Regions from separate parts of the Homo sapiens genome. Here region 2 is linked to region 1. The links are contacts of gene promoters, found by promoter capture Hi-C in human tissues and cell types (Jung and others, 2019). All regions are on one chromosome and are shown on one strand. Each heading gives the region's core, a stretch centred on a gene start or on the middle of the fragment in contact. The rest is flanking DNA. Distances are from core to core; before and after follow the strand shown. Region 1 holds the start of SORCS1 (sortilin related VPS10 domain containing receptor 1). Region 2 overlaps SORCS1 (sortilin related VPS10 domain containing receptor 1).

The links. Contacts are between HindIII fragments. The study calls those that stand out against the background at their distance.
Region 2: a contact is called between a fragment that was not itself captured here and the fragment with the promoter of SORCS1 in region 1, in 1 of the 25 tissues and cell types used here (dorsolateral prefrontal cortex).

What each region holds. Positions count from the first base shown.
Region 1 is chr10:107,162,189-107,166,223 of GRCh38, reverse strand. It overlaps SORCS1 (sortilin related VPS10 domain containing receptor 1), which reads left to right and starts at 1,518. Exons shown (of 26, transcript NM_052918.5): 1 at 1,518-2,255. The coding sequence starts at 1,698. RefSeq lists a silencer at 1,609-1,802. The HindIII fragment of the contact is 4,558 bases long and covers 1-3,517 here.
Region 2 is chr10:107,118,795-107,123,012 of GRCh38, reverse strand. All of the region lies in intron 1 of SORCS1 (sortilin related VPS10 domain containing receptor 1), which reads left to right. Among named protein-coding and RNA genes, the nearest start is that of SORCS1, 44 kb to the left of the region's middle. The HindIII fragment of the contact is 4,505 bases long and covers 638-4,218 here.

The DNA of each region.
Region 1 (4,035 bases), core at 269-2,768:
AGGTTATTATTCTAGTATGAAAATGAACAAAAATGTAACTAGAAACTGGAATCGGTACTATTTTGTTGTGTCATTCATTTATTCAATCAGTAAATATTCATTAAATAATGTAATAACATGTACCTAAGAGAATATTACGTATATGAAGACTGCAAAGAAATCTGAAACCATTTCAACCCTTAGAAGCAAACTGTCTACTTTAAAAAGGATTGGATTTTGAGAAATCCTTTGCCGTTTTCAAAGCCCATTCACCTGCTATAAATCTTCATCTGAACTTACGAATAGTAGCAGGGTGCTAGGCTGGGCAGATACTATAATCATACAATTATAGAATTTTAGGAGCGGAAGGGATTTTAAAGGTCATCTAATGTGACCATTTAATTTTAAAGCTTAGGAAGCTGACAGATTGTGATTTGTCTGAGGTCCCAAAGCAAACCAGTGGCAGAGCACCATCACAGACTTGCTATTAGGGATCTCAAAGCATGTGGCAGTAGCACTGGGCCAGGCACCAAGTGACACAGAATAACTATAAGTACTGTGCCTCCTTTCCTGTATTTATTTGTTATGCAGATATGCATTAGACTCACAATAAATATTTATTGAACTAATGACTGGCAGATTTCCTCCCATGTAGGGTACTGTGCCACGTACTGAGGAAAATGGTAAACAAAAAACAGGTCACTTCCTCCAAGTTGCTCGAAATTTGATCTTCCTGTCCTCAATGAGTTTGCAGTCTCTTAGGGAAACCAAGATATATACGCTTAAAAAACGCGTAGTGGAAAGCGTTTTCTTAAATATGATTGCATGCAGGAAGATTGGGTTCAAATTCAGTGAATGCTTTAGGAGGTTAGGAGAGAAATCTAAGCGTTAAAATTGATGGGAAAAAAAATCCCCCAAACTAACACACACACACACACACACACACACACACTCACACACGAGATCATTTAATTACATCACTCTCTGCTGCTGCCTTTCCGGGATCTCCCCCCAGGCTGGGACACACAGGCTCTGCTGCGGGTAAGGTCAAGATGCCAACTCAGGAAGCATAAGAGAGGGAAGGAGCAGAAGCCCACCCATCCCTATCTCCTCAACTAGAAAAGACCAGAAAGACGGAGAAAAAAGGAAACAGCAACATAGACTCATAGAAACAATAAAGCAGGAATAGGAAGCTCCCGACACATCGACTGCTCCGGGAGCCCGGGGTCGACCGCCCCCGCGGGCAGGGTGCGCGGACTCAGCGCCGGGACCCGCGGCCGCGGGGGCGCAGAGTGGGCGGCGGGGAGAGGCGGCGGCAGCGCCTGCGAGGCCGAGGGGAGGTCGCCGGCGGCGCCTCCAGCGCCCGGAGACCCGGTGCGCAGCGCAGCTCGGCCGCGGGACGCGGCGCCCGGAGTCCCGGCAGCGCCTGCCCTCCCTCCCGCGTCGCCCGCCAGCGCCCGCGCCCGCTCCGCCAGTGACTTCAGCTCAGCTCCACCCCCGCGCGGCGGCGGCTCGCTCCGTCCGGACCCGCGCTCGGCACAAGCCCAGCCCGGGCAAGCGGCCGCCACCTGCCCGGCGCCGCCTCCGCCCGCCCCCACCGCGGCGCAACTTGGATGGAGTTGGGGTCCTGAGCGCCGGCCCCCCACAGCCGCCAGCGCAGAGCTCGTGCCGCCACCTTCGTTCTGGGACCCCTCTCTCCGCTGCTCTTCGCTCCCGCGATGGGAAAAGTTGGCGCCGGCGGCGGCTCCCAAGCCCGGCTGAGCGCGCTCCTCGCCGGCGCGGGGCTCTTGATCCTCTGCGCCCCGGGCGTCTGCGGCGGCGGCTCCTGCTGCCCCTCGCCGCACCCCAGCTCCGCTCCACGCTCGGCCTCGACCCCTAGGGGCTTTTCCCACCAGGGGCGGCCAGGCAGGGCTCCTGCCACGCCCCTGCCCCTCGTAGTGCGTCCCCTGTTCTCAGTGGCCCCCGGGGACCGAGCGCTATCCCTGGAGCGGGCTCGGGGCACTGGGGCATCCATGGCGGTTGCTGCACGCTCCGGCCGGAGGAGACGGAGCGGAGCGGATCAGGAGAAGGCAGAACGGGGAGAGGGCGCGAGTCGGAGCCCCCGGGGAGTGCTAAGAGATGGAGGGCAGCAGGAGCCTGGGACTCGGGAGCGGGACCCGGACAAAGCCACCCGCTTCCGGATGGAGGAGCTGAGACTGACCAGCACCACGTTTGCGCTGACGGGAGACTCAGCACACAACCAAGCCATGGTCCACTGGTCTGGCCACAACAGCAGCGTGAGTAGAATGGGACTGAGGGTAAAGGGGTGGAAAGATGGAAAGGGTTAAAGTCGGCTGTGTGATCTGATGGAGAATTGGGGGGAAATAGGGTTTCTGGACATGGGAGATGCTGCAAACTGGTCTCTGCCCACTTCCCCCAAGAGTTAACATCACCTACTAGGAGACCAACCTCCCCATCTCTCCCACCAACACCATCAGAGTCCTCTCCAAATGCCACAGCTTCAAACTGAGGAGTCAAATCCCTATTTCCTGTTGCCTTGGTCGCATTGGTGTGTGGAACTGAAGACCAGGTAAACAGAGGGGTTAAAGTTCTCCTAATACAGAGATGAAAGGGTTAAATTTCCAGGCAAGCTGACATCCCCTCAAGTGACTTTCCCTTTACTTGCCAGACCTATGTACTGGCTCAAAGAAGATTAAGAAGACCCATATATGTAGGCGTTTTATTTTATTTTATTTTAATTTCATGCGGAGCTCCTAACCCCTTCTTCTCCACAAGGGAGAACTGCAGTGGAGAGTATATAAGGTGTTCTTTAGTGTATCCTCTGCTTTAGGGACCAAGTGGATGCAAGTTTCAGGGCAGGAACTCTCCAGCATCTTCTAACAGCGCTAAGCGAGGGTGTTTTGAGAACTGGGGCTTTCCAGCCCGTGAATGAGCGGTTGTTCTCTGGCATGGTCAGTCCCAGGAAGATCAGATATATCCCAGTGACAACAACTCCCTGTTCTCCCCCATTGCCTGACCTCCTCTAATGAAGAGCACAAATAAAGACTTAACATTCCCTTTATGAAGGCAGGAAAGGGATTGCTCAATTCCAGGAGGCTGGATTCCAGGGGACTTAGGATGCAAGTCCATGAGCTTTGGTCCTATCAGGAAAGGTTTTAGATTTTCAGAAAAGCTTGCATGTCTGCAATCTGAGGGAGCTATTCCTGTTTAAATTGAACCTAGAAACTTCAGTGAGTTGAAATAGTAGAGAACCAGCTTTGATTGTAATAACTAAAAGTGATTTTAAAGTGTGGAAACTTCTCCAGACATAGACAAGAACATAACAACCAAGGATGGGTAAAATGGGGGAAAAAAATTTCAAGTTTTACAGCTTCAACCAGGTAATTGAGATTGTAGTGTTTGTAATATGCACAATTTACGCAGTCTGGAACCTTTCAAAACGTTTTCTGTTGTGATGTAATTCCCAGAAACCTTCCCAGAGAAGTGCCACTTTAGTGAGTTGTGCTCATTGTCAGCTTTTTAATGAGAGTTGTGAACATTTTAAAATACTAATCTGTCATCATGAATTCCTTGGGTACACAGATATAAATTGTATTAAGGCACATCATGATAGATAATATTTAGCATTGATGTATCTGTCCTGAGAGTAGTAGCAGGGTTTTCCCTACAATTCCTCCTTCATGACAGAGTCTGTGATTTTATATGGTTCTCAGGAGTGGTTTGATCAAATAAATGAAGCTGAAATTCTTTCCATTCAAGTTCTGGAGACCCTTGCCCTCATTCCTTACCTTAACCATTATATCTTTCATATCATAGCCACTAAAATTAATCCTCTAATTTGAACTCGAATCTTCTTAAACTGATTGAATAACTTTCACACTGCTTTAAGTGATTAACTCAAAGCTTCTGGCTTTAAGGGGAGATTTGAAACACATCAAACATGTTAGCTCTTGTTGTATTAAGAAGTAAAAGACTTTGGACTCAGAATGTTTCTGGCTTTTAATGTAATTCAAGCTGTAAAATATCACTCACCCATTAGACCTCTTCTTTTAGCTC
Region 2 (4,218 bases), core at 1,641-4,140, 45 kb after region 1:
TGTGGGTGGAGAGGAATATGATTTCTCATCTTAAATGTGAAAGAAAGCCTCCCTGGGAAAGCAGTAACAGTGAACAGAAGGGGCTTGTCAAAATGACTGATACTGTCTTTGCCTCTCTAACAATGTCTAGGATGACATCAACAACTCTGAGCATTTGCTTATCGTTATTTCAACTTGAGTTTTCCTTCCTTTTCCTCTTCATGCCCAATTCTTAGCTTATCTCCAGCTGCAAATTCAGAAGAGAAGACAAGTGCTAAATCGGTGCCTCACTTTGGAGCCTGAAACAGGACTACTTTTTTTTTTCTTTCCTGCTTTTAGTCCGTAAGGAGATGATAGACATTTTATAATGACACAGAGGTGCCATCATGCTATTGTGCCATCAGCATCAAAGTTAAAGAAAATTAACTTAAAAAGCTATTTTATCCATAAAAATAACTAAATGCTACCGCTATTTGTATATGCATCATTTAAGATTAGGGTCTTACCTTATTTCCTTCTTCAGATAAAAGCACAGACACTCAAATGCCATGCTATTTTTATCTATAATTAGGTTGAGTAGCTTCTTCCTTACCTTTCCTGGTTAAGTGATCAGAGAGGCAAGAGCCACAGAACCCTGACATTGGAGTGGAACTCTTGCTACTTACTACTCAGCACTTCTCTTTTTGAATGGGAAAAGAAGGAAGGAAATGAAAATCAGACTTCTAATGGTTTTACTTGAAGGAAAAGTACATGGAAGAAATAGTACATGGACGAAATATCAGGGTTGACCAAGGTCAGGAATGGCAGGCCCTTGCTTGTATTGTGCTTAGTTGTGAGAACAGAGAGACAGAAATAAGAATGTCATTTGAACGGGTATTTTCCCTTATGAGGTGACCTCTTTGTGCCCTCTGGAATAGACAAAGCCAAAACCAGTCTCCGGAGCACTTCTCAAGACTGGCACTAAGTACAGAGGGTCACATCTACATTCACAGCAGCATCAGGTGGCTGGTGCTTTTTCCCTTGGGACACTCCCTGTCCACCAAACTAATTTTTGGAGGTAGATGTGCTTGCCTCCTTTTTTCCTTTTCCCTCATTTGTATTATTATATAATAAATACATTTTTGTATTAAAAGGTGAAAATGGAGATAAAAATATTGGTTTCCTTTGATAGCCCCTCTCCCCATGCCCAAACCACAGACAGTCCTTGTGTCAAAAGGAACCACTGTGTATTTCTTTCAGACATTTTATATTTGTTATGCAAAGAGATGCATACACAAGAAAATAATGTGTTTTTGTCCCTTATCATAACAATTCTCCAACTGTATGTACTGTTATGCCAGTTTTATCTTGTCTCTAAATGATATTCCCTGGGGAATTGATATGATGTTACTTAATACCCTGTGATTTTTTTTTTTTACTGTAGAATCATGTTTGATAATGTTGTTAAATCACAGTTAGCCATTTTACATTTAATGCCTTTCCCTCCAGTCTTAACAATAATGTAATAACAGGCATCATCTAGCCTTCTTTGTTGTACTTTCCTTTAAACAACTTAAAAGCTTAGAAGGGATGGTCCCAAAGATGTCATTGTATGAATTTTGTCCTTGAGAACCCAAGTCTTTGATTGAGAGCAGTGGGGATGCTTCTTCTGCTCATGTAACCAGTTCTAGCTCTGAGCTCCTGCTTTGCCTAGGTCCATGCATTTTATGGATCTTCTCAACATTCTGAAACTTTTTGTTTTGTCAAAAATGGCTCTCAGGATTGACAGAGAGGGATTATATTTTACTGAGCTACTATATTCCAGACAATCTCATGAATAATCACATGGCATCCTGTGGCAACCCTGAGAAACAGGTGGTACTGTCCGCAGTTTATAAGGGAAACTGAAGCTCAGAAAAATGAAATAAACTGCTTGAGATTATAGACACTAAGTTGCATGTTATAAATTTAAAGACTTCGGCTCCAAAGACACCTGTGATTTTCACTGTGCCATGTTACCTTCTAACATGAACCTCCTTTTCGAAGTGCTGGTCGCTTTTCTCTTTATCCTCTGCATTTTGGCATATAGACCCTAAGCAAAGCCATCCTATTCCCATCTCCCTCTTCTCCTTAGCATAGATCATTTTTTCTTGCTTTTTTTTCACTTGAGACCTGAAACATAGAACCTAGGGATTTCCTCACTGTGGTCTCCCCTATGAGGAGCATGTTACAAGAAGGGATGTAGTATGGGAATTAAATGGGTTTGCTTGAATGTGGATAGCCTGCTTTCCGCATTTTCAGTTGTAGCAGTTTGGTGCCAGTGATGCATGGCCGGTTTAAGCAGTCGTGCTTTGCCTTTCAAGTTAGTCATCTTTGGTTTCATGGAAAGAGTCCTCCCTTAGAGGAATAACAGGTGGAAAGATCTATTAGGTTATCCTGTGCATTATGAGATTGCCTACTTCTGTGAATTTCCTGGTCCTTATTTCAAGTGATCCATGTTATAAGTCTTTGGTCTCTGTCTATAAACTAATAAGTATCACTGCTGTGATTTGCTTAGTCTCGATGTCCTCTTACTTGTTTTGAATTTTCTAGTCTAAATCAGACTCTTCCCATCAGAGAATAGAATAATATAATACTGTACAATCATGTCTTCCAGGTACTTGCCTACAGGCAGTGAATTTTTTTATTACTTTCTTTATTCATGTATTTATTTATTCATTCAGCAAATACAAATTACCTGCCTGCTATGTGCATAGCACTGTAAGAGATGCTTTATGCTGTATTGATGTATAATGTATGATACATTTATATATGATGTATGAAGATGCCAAGTAGTTAACATTCATTCAATACTTACCCTCAAAAATCTCGACTTCTAATTATTTCTGACATTAAATATATTCACTTGCAAAGGTAAAACCAATTTAAAGTCTAATAAACAGTAAGAATGATAATAACACAGGAGATATATTATAAGGCAGGCCATGATGGAAAGCCTGGTAGTCATCCTAGATGGCATGTGCTTTGTGCTCTGAAAAGATATTAAAACATATAGGAATTAGCTGGAAGAAACCATGGAAAGCTTTTCTAAGTGAGGGCAGATTTGTGGTTAGCTGTGATCAGTCTTGGCTGTAAACGGATAGTTCCATAGATAGAGACTCTCAGGCCTCCTTCATTTTCTACCACTCCATTTTTTGGATGATGAATACTCTCACTCTTTTATCTATCTGAAATTAATTTTGACTTAACTTGTGACCTATCTACTTGTTTAGTCCTCAGAAAATATGAAAAATACCCAAATTCTATAGGTTATTAGAAGACATTTTTCTTAGCTCCATGACATGGACAACTAGGTTAATCTCTCTGTGGATTAGACTTCCTATTGTAAAATAAAATATTTGAAGGCTTCTAATAATAAATGAACTTTTTCCCTGGCCAAAGATTTTCTTGGATTATTTAATATGATTATCTCATCAACACTGCATATAGGTACAATACTCTCCATTTTCCTAATAAAACAAAAATCAAGGCCAAGCAAAGCAAAGTAACATTTTCAAAGCCTCAGCCACAGTAAGATATTTCTGATTACAAATCCCATGTTTGTATTATTCCCTTGAAAGATTAAATTGGATTACTGCTAGAGACTCTTGAAATGCAACCCTTATATACAAACCATAGCCTTTCTTTAAAACTAGTTGCAATACCTCAGCTGAGTGCATGAAATGTACAAAGGGCCACCATTCTGTAGGTAAACAATAAGAGCACATTTAATATTTCTTTGCTGTTTCTATGTCTATCCTAGTCACTTTCATGATTCATCTCTAAACCCTTACCAATTCTTTTGCAGTTTTGAAAGTGTACTTCAAAATCTGCAGTGAAATTTTGATATTTTGCCTTTTCCTTTCACTTCCTATATTACCAGTTTCAGCTACTTTGGAGGCTTGTCCACCACTTCCATTTCACTGGCTCTGTACTCATTTCATTATGGTATATAGCTTTCAGGATAGATTAGTTGATGCTGCAGCAAAGAACAATATGACCTGTGTGAGTCATGTGGGAGTTCTCATCTGCATAGTTATCACTCAGGGACCCAAGTGTTAAAGAGTCCACCAACTGTGGCATTGCTGGTTCTTGAGATTGGAAAAGAGAGCTGTGGAGGACCTCACATTATAAGTATTCTGACCTGGAAGTTTTACATGTCATGTCTTGTCTGTATCCATTGCTCAGACATAGTTATATGTTATTTTATGGTACCCAGAA